3 separate regions of the Homo sapiens genome follow, and all the other regions are linked to region 1. Evidence: promoter capture Hi-C in human tissues and cell types (Jung and others, 2019). All regions are on one chromosome and are shown on one strand. The core of a region is centred on a gene start or on the middle of the fragment in contact, and the rest is flanking DNA. Distances in the headings are between cores, read along the strand shown.

Region 1 (2,651 bases), core at 93-2,592:
CTGCCCACTTGGGATAAGTAGCATCTTTTTTTTTTTTTCTTTCTTTCCTGGCAATGAATCACTATTATTAGGTCGGAGCAAAAGTAACTGTGGCTTTTCCCATTGAAAGTAATAGCAAAACTGCAATTACTTTTGCACCAACCTATTACTTTTTCAAGTCCTTTTATATTGTTTTGAATTGTTAAGTTTTCAAGGGTCTATTTCATTCAATATGTCAGCAAACATGTATTAAGTACAGGTTGGGCAGGGCGCAGTGGCTCACATCTGTAATCCCAGCACTTTGGGAGGCCGAGGCGGGTAGATTACTTAAGGTCAGGAGTTCGAGACCAGCCTGACCAACGTGGTGAAACCCCGTCTCTACTAAAAACACAAAAATTAGCCGCGCGTAGTGGTGGCCACCTGTAGTCCCAGCTACTCGGGAGGCTGAGGCACGAGAATCGCTTGAACCCGGGAGGCAGAGGCAATGAGCCGAGATCGCGCTACTGCACTCCAGCCTGGGCAAAACAGCAAGACTCCATCTCCAAAAAAAAAAAAAAAAAAAAAAAGTACAGGTTGTTGTTTTCTCAGGGAATCCTCATAGCTGGTGAAGTATCCAGCTTTTCATTTTACGGATGAGTGAACTGGGGTTTAGAACTGATAACATTTTGCCCAAGTTCTCACAGCTAGCGAGAGGCGTGCCGCAGTTTATCGTGGGGTGGGTCTAAACAAGGACCTAAAAACTGTATTCGAATCCCAGCCCTACTACCGCCAGCTGTGTGACCTTACGAGGCGCCTCACTTTACTGTTTCTCCAACAGAGACAGACATTTCTTGTTACCGCGCAAGTGGGATAACCTCCCCACCAGTGTCTAGACACAGTAGGTGCTCAATAAATAGGTGTGGGTTTGCGGTGGCAGAAGAGCGCTATCCCTTAAGTTTCTGACAGTGAGGGGGAAAAAGGCTAAGCAGGGAAAGGAAGGGAAAGGGGTAAACTGAGCTCGGCGCAGTCGAGAGCGCGAAATAGGGAGGGCTTCCTGCAGGCCAGGAATTTGGAGAGGCCGAGGCTGGGAGAAGAAAAATGCCCGGTGACGGCGGAGGGGAGGTGGAAGGACGAACGGCTCCGGGAAGGGGTGAGGTCTAAGCGCAGCCCCGGGCCCAGCGGAGCCGAGGGCGGGTGGTGCGGGGGTTCCTGGGTAGGTTCGTCCCGACGGGCCGCGGGCGGATTGAAGGGAGGGTTGGGCCCGCCGGCAGCCCCGGCGGGTCCAGGCCCCCGGCCAGCCCCTGCCCCTCCTCCCAGGAGGGCGGGCGGCGACTGCGGGGCGGGGCGCGGGCTCGCTCGGCCTCCCGGCGGCGCCGCGGCCCTTGCACTCCGGCCGGGCTCTGCTGGCTGCGGCGGGAGCTGGACGCGGGAGGAGGCGGCGGCGGCGGTGAGTGAGCTCCGGGCTGGAGCGGGGCGGGGTGTGCGCCGGCAGCCGGGTTTCGGGGTGCTAGGGGCCGCCCAGGGCGGCGGGACCCCCAGGGGTTCGGGCTCAGCCAGGTGCACTGTGCTCAGTCCGCGCGTCCACTCTCGGTGACCCGCGCCGCGCGTGTCCTGGGGCTCGAAGATGCGACCCGGACTCCCGCGCCGCGCCCCGCCGAGGGCAGGCGCAGAACAGATGCGGGCGATCCCTGGGGAACCCGCTTCGGGGCGGGGTGGGAGGGAGGAGGCCCTGCAGAACCTCCCTTTAGTGAAGAGGGACTTTCTGCCTTCGCACCCCTGCCTGGACCCTCCGGCTCTAGTGACAGCTGGGAGAGACTCACACGAAGCAGTTTCTGACCTATCCTGTCGTACACAAGTCCTCGGCGTGCTCGGCCGGACCATCCCCTGGAAAGAAAGGGGCGTGTGACCTTTCTCTCCCCGATCCTCCAGACCACTGCGCCGCCCAGGGAGGTCATCCCCGAGAGAGCCCCCGCCTCACTCGGAGCACACATTCTAGCTCTCCCCGGGACTTTTCCAAGTTGCATCACTGTTTGGCCTCTAGACAGGTACTTGGCTGTCATGTTGGAGTTAGTTACACAGGATTTTTGAAACTTTGTATATTTGCTTTGTGTGTTCTTCACCCTAAGGCCGCTGCCCTCCCGACTCTGCTTATGCCGCTCAAAACGTTGCTCAAAGCTCGCTGGGAATGCTTTTGCGGGCATTGGTTCTCAAACTTGGCCCCACATCTGGAGAGTTTTAAAAAATACTGGTGCCTGTGTCCCACTCCCAGAGATCTGGATTCGGCTTGCCTGGGTTGCAGCCTGGACAATGGAATTTTTAAGACGCCGCAGGTGATTCTAATGTGCAGGCAAGTTTGAAAACCTCTGCTTTGAGAGTTGCTCCCACCAGCCACTCTTCGGACGGCTCAAGATCAGTCCTGATCTAGAACTCATCTCAGGTCCTCATAGCTCTTCCCTAATCCACCTCTCCACCTGAAGAACCTGTTGATTGGTGCTTTCCAACTTTAGACAGTAGATGGTGCCTTTACTGAAGATCCCTTTGTTTCTACCTCTCTGTTTACAGTCAATACTGCCAGGGCACTTTCTGCCAAGGAGGTGGGAGTGTAGGCATTAGAACCGAGCAGTCCTTGTCAGGGTCAAGGTTATAATACAGGGTTGTCCTATTCAGGGAAAACCAAGTGATAATTTGACTTG
Region 2 (2,651 bases), core at 62-2,561, 200 kb after region 1:
TGTGGAGTAGACAGGACAGAGGCCCACAGAGGCCTTAGGTCCTCCATGGCAGGACCCCAGTAAACTTGTAATACGACTGAACAAAATCCTCAGAAATGCTGATGGGATGTGGGGACAAACTGGGGTGGCCCTACTGCCATCTAGAAGAGGAAGCAGAAATAAGGCCGCAGGCTTCTGCTCAACTGGAGCCCACTCCTGGGCCTCTGAGTGAGGCCCAGCTGTTAGGGTCAATTGGCTGCAATCATCCAAAACTCACTGAGATGACCTCAAGTGGCAGAAAGAACTTGTTCTATGGTTGGAGGGATGTCTCACAGAGCCCACGAACAGGGAATTTGAATCAGGGATGGGGACATTGCAGGAACCCTGCAAGTTCTTTCTCCCCATTGCTTCCTCTGCTTCCCCTGCCTGTGTCAGGTTCTTCCTCTGAATCCCAGTCTGCATGGTAGAAAATAGCCTCTGAGTTTGTACGTGGATAGAGCAGCTAGACAGGGACTTGGGGAAGGGATAAGATATACCTAGTTTGAGTGCCAAGTTCTGGAAGGTCGGAGGGGAGGCCCCAGTGGGAAACACATGCTTCTTATGGAGCCAGAATTCATCTAATTGAGTTGGAGTTTGCGAAACCCCTTCTCTGCAAAAAAATACAAAAGTTAGCTAGGTGTGATGCTATATGCCTGTAGTCCCAGCTACTTGGGAGGCTGAGGCAAGAGAATCCCCTGAGCCCAGGGAGGTTGAGGCTGCAGTGAGTCGTGATTGAGCCACTGAACTCCATCCTGGGCAACAGAGCGAGTAGCCCTGAAGTCTGTCATCTTGGCCCTGATGTCTTCTTTGAGCGAGTTTATCTTGTGCTATGATGTTCCCGTGAACTCCAGGCCACATCAATAGGCCCCTCCACCTTGGGTGGGGGGCTGGCCTGGGTAAGCTTTAAGGATATCTTCAGAGAAGTCATTTACTTGTGTTGGAACAAAAATAGTTCTTGCATAGCAGCAGGGACAGAACTGACTTGGAGGTCGGAACAGGGTCCCAGTTCCCCCTTGGGGGTCCCAATTCCAGTTCCTCTTCTTATTAGCTTTGTAACCACTACCACCCTGCAGCTATTGAGTGCTCACATTGTAGCCAGTACACATTGAAATGACCTGAGTGTAAAATACACGATGAATTTTGAAGATTTAGTACAAGAAAATGTAAAATATCTCATTACTATTTTACTAGTAACATAATATTAATGTTAAATGATAATATTTCAATATATTGGGTTAAATAAAATATATGAGTAAAATCAAGTTTACCTGTTTCCTTTTATTGTCAATAAATATGGCTATTAGAAAGATTAAAATTACAAAAATGGCTCACGTTCTTTTGGTTTTCCCCTCTAGACTCTAAACCTAACAGATTGCCTTTATTGAAAAGAACAAAATCACACAGTCTTGGCACAACTTTAGAAATTTGGGGAAAGATGCGTATGAAATCTCAATATCTTAGCCTCTGTTTAATGTTAATTACCACATTGTCCTTCAGGGATGCAAATCCTGGCCCAACCTATAGCTGCCCCTCCCTCTGCTCTGCCTGCTGGCAAGACGGCCCAGGCCATGGGGGACAAGATGAGGACAATGATTCCTGACACAAGGCTCTATGCACCCTTTGGGCCTGGTGATGTTCTCATGGGGACCTGCAGGCCATTCCGCTACTCTGAAAAGCTTGACGGAAAGAAAATGTACAGCTTCCCAAGCACTGCTGCCTTGGCTGATGGGATCATTGCTTCTTGGCTTGGGGCCAACAGCAATCCAGCCAGGCAAGGTTGGTGGTCTCAGCTCGTTAGAAGCTCTAATTGGCAATTGTTAATCTCCTTGATTAATAGAAATGTTGAAAACAAATTAATTACTCATTAAAATGTAATTGGATAGACAAAAACTTTCCAAATGTGCTATTCATAGCGAGTGTGACTGAAAGATGTCCTTGGCAATGGAGAGTTTGGGAACCACTGACAGAAGCAATTGTATTCGTCAGGGTCCTGGTTCTTGCATGTTCCGTCTCCACATTTGGTTGGTAGGTGATGGAGTTCCCCTTCACTTTCCTCCAGGGATGTGTCCTCGACATGTCCATCCCCTTGAAATTCATAGAATTTTGAGATTTGGAAGACTTCCATCATGTCGCCACTGGGGATGATGAGCAACCTGTCATGGCTGTCACAGCCCTGTGACCAAACCCCTCGCCCTTTGTTCAGCCCCACTTCCTCCTCAGCTTGGAAGGCACCATGCTTCAAACTATCCCATCTCTGAGAACTCACAGTCAGAGCGGCAACCACTAATTCCTCAGGTTATGTGCAGCTCTGCAAGCCATTGCTCCACTCTCAGAACCAGTTCTTTACCCTTCCTGAGACTACAGGTGCCTGGGCCCCTCCTGGTGCATTAACATATCACCCTCCACTCAAGCCGCTGGCTCCAGCTCCCACGCTCAGGGAGGCAACATTGACTTTATGAGAGCATCTACCTTATTGGAAGGATGTGATAGAATATATATGTATATATGTACATAGACATGTGTAACATAAAATGAGAGAATGTGGACAAAGCTTTCTATAGTGTCTGGTCTGTAGATGCTCTCAGCAACTGTTAACTCTTGTTGCTTATTACTGACTTGTTCTTTTCATGTGC
Region 3 (2,651 bases), core at 44-2,543, 130 kb after region 1:
GTGAATGGATCCGTAACGCCACCCTGTTTTTAAGAAAGCTGAGCTGTGATTTAGAGAAGTTGTTACTTGCACAAAACCTCACAGTGGTCAGGTGACTATACCAGGATCAGGACGTTTCTATTCTGGCCCCATTCCCCTTGCCAGTCAGTTAGAGCTGGCTATTGACCCAGGTAGCCTGGCCTTGCAAGGAGGAACCAGGGCACTCTGGGCTTTGTAGGAGCCTGGTCTGCTCAGCTCTGTCTCAGGGAACAGCCTACTACTTTAAAGGAGGAAATAATAAAGGTCACTCTTGTCAGGTGTCTTAACCCTGTGGGTACCAGAGTCAGCCTAAACGCTTGTAGCAGTCTTGGCCCAGGCTCTTGCCTACCGAGACCATGTCCTTTTCTTTCTCCAGTCCCTGCTTAGCATCGCTCCTGTGGCCATGGAAGTGTGGGGCAAACGGAAAAGTTGACAGCTTTCTATACGGAAATTTGGTCTTGTTTGGGGCTGCAAGGAAGCACTAATGAGAAGCATCCATTGGATTGAAAGTTCTTGGCCTCAGCATTTGTATTTAAGTTCTGAAAATGGCATGATTTTTATAATTCAGGAGAGACCCTTTCAGCATTTATGGATATATGGTAGCAAAATGGGAAAGTTGAAGGATCCGTTTTCACAAATAACAAGACTTCCGGGCAGGGGTGCAGGGCAGAACTGTGGACTGGAGTAGGCCTGTGAGCTTCCAGATTGAGCCTTTGGCTGCTTGTTTATCTTCTTTCTTCAAAAATCCTGTTGAACCTGTTGGACATGTGTGTGCTGACAGCAAGCTGATTTGTAATCATTTGTAAAGCCATGTGGTCTGTCTGTGACAGCGACTCTAACTGGGAGTCTAACGCTTGCATTTACCCGGTTCCCACCCCCCAATATTTTCCTAGTGACGCAGAGCGCTGGAAGCAGGGCATTGTCTGGGTGGAGTCCCTTCCGCCAGCCAGCAGCTCCTTGAAGGCGAACGGCACTGCAGGGGCATGTTGGGTTCTATAAACAGAACTTTTACATGCTGGTCACAAGGTTAGCTTAGACTGTGGCTCTCATGGTGAGGGAAGTGGTGTCTTATAAATATGATGTGAGGCTCCTTTTATCTCCTGGAAACTGGGGAACATTTTGTAAGAATTTTTCTAAGGAATGGTGTTAAAAAAACAAAGCAAAGGCACAATGGAAGGCCTAAGGCTGTGTTTCATAGAAGCCCCTGAAATGCAGTCTTGGTGAGTGTGTGGATGTAGCTGAAGCCCCCAGCTGGCAGGTTCGGGGCCTCCTTTTCCCTTCCCTGGCTGGCTCTGGGGAATTTTCCCTCAAGCTGCTGCCCCCACTTGGAAGAAACTGGTAGCAACTAGCAGAGGTCACAAGCAAGGAGTCAGAGAACCGGGTTCAAGTCCTGGGTGTGTGACTGTTGTCTACCCAACCTTAATGTATTGTGGTCATTGACTGAGGTCTTACTATGTGTCTGAAACATTGCTAGGTGCTTTGCATAATGTCTCAATTCATTTTTAGAATAATGAGAAAACTGAAGTTTCGAGAAGAACAAGCAGGACCAATTCAGGTCTGCTGACTCCAAGGCCTGCACTCTTTTTGTTTTCTTTTGTTTTTATTAAGATAACATTCATATAACACAAAATTCATTTTAAGCATTTTACAGTGTGCAGTTCAGTGGTTTTTTATATATTCACAATTTGGGTAGCCACCATCGCTATCTAATTCTAGAACATTTTCATCACCCTAAATGAAGCCCCTTTCATCTGAATTCCCCCTTTCCCTCATCCTTTGTCAACCACTAGTCTACTTTCTGTCTGTATGGATTTGCCTATTCTGGACATTTTGTATAAACAGAATCATACCATATGTCAAGACCTGAACTATGGAGCATGTTGTGTTTCGGAAAAATCAAATCACTTAACTGCTCTACATCTATTTAGTTGCAGTGTGTTGTGGTCAGAAGGATTTTTATTTCCTTGTTGAGTATCTCTGTAGGTTTATTGTGTGTCAAATGCATTCTGTGAGCAAATATGAGGATTTTATTGTCGTAACTTTTGTCTTGGACCTATATTTTAATTACAGGCCACTCTGAGAGTGAATCTTAACTAGTTTTTTTAAAGGGAAGCATGTTGACTTATTTCCTAAGGACATTATGAAGAAAACCAGAGACATTTTTAACCTATGTAATCACTGAGTTGCCATAGGAAAAACTGGGTAATTGAATATGATTAAAAGGGAGTATCTTTTAGGTGGTTCTATAAGCAAGAAAATTGCCACCAGGGCAACAGAAATACAGGATGTAAATAAAATCTTCATTAAGCAAGGTATATGTAAACTCTACAAGTACGGCAGGTTAATGACCATAAGGAGAGAATGGCCCTCACCTCTGGATGCTGTGGCAGGGACATTGTTACAGATGATCTGGTTTAAATGGCAGCATTTGAAAATAAAATGTAAACATGAGGCAGTAGGAGTAGAACCTCTAGTCATCTTAGCTCACTGAATTCCAGGACTACCTAATGCTGCCTGACTTCTTCAAGTTCATTCTAGAATCCCAGACTGTTAGAGCTGGCCAGGACATTGAAACAAGATAGACTGACCCTTTTGTGTTGCAGAGGGGAGAAAGTGAAGGCAGATAGAAGTTA

The links. The method cuts DNA at HindIII sites, captures the fragments that hold promoters and counts their contacts. A contact is called where the count stands out against the background at its distance.
Region 2: a contact is called between a fragment that was not itself captured here and the fragment with the promoter of CGNL1 in region 1, in 2 of the 25 tissues and cell types used here (H1 embryonic stem cells and pancreas).
Region 3: a fragment that was not itself captured here is called in contact with the fragment with the promoter of CGNL1 in region 1 in 1 of the 25 tissues and cell types used here (mesendoderm cells).

The regions. Positions count from the first base shown.
Region 1 is chr15:57,375,163-57,377,813 of GRCh38, forward strand. CGNL1 (cingulin like 1) reads left to right here and starts at 1,343. Exons shown (of 19, transcript NM_032866.5): 1 at 1,343-1,405. The HindIII fragment of the contact is 14,520 bases long and covers 1-2,651 here.
Region 2 is chr15:57,573,759-57,576,409 of GRCh38, forward strand. No RefSeq gene overlaps it. Among named protein-coding and RNA genes, the nearest start is that of GCOM1, 17 kb to the right of the region's middle. The HindIII fragment of the contact is 4,052 bases long and covers 1-2,651 here.
Region 3 is chr15:57,505,304-57,507,954 of GRCh38, forward strand. The region is part of intron 8 of CGNL1 (cingulin like 1); the gene reads left to right. Among named protein-coding and RNA genes, the nearest start is that of GCOM1, 85 kb to the right of the region's middle. The HindIII fragment of the contact is 4,195 bases long and covers 1-2,651 here.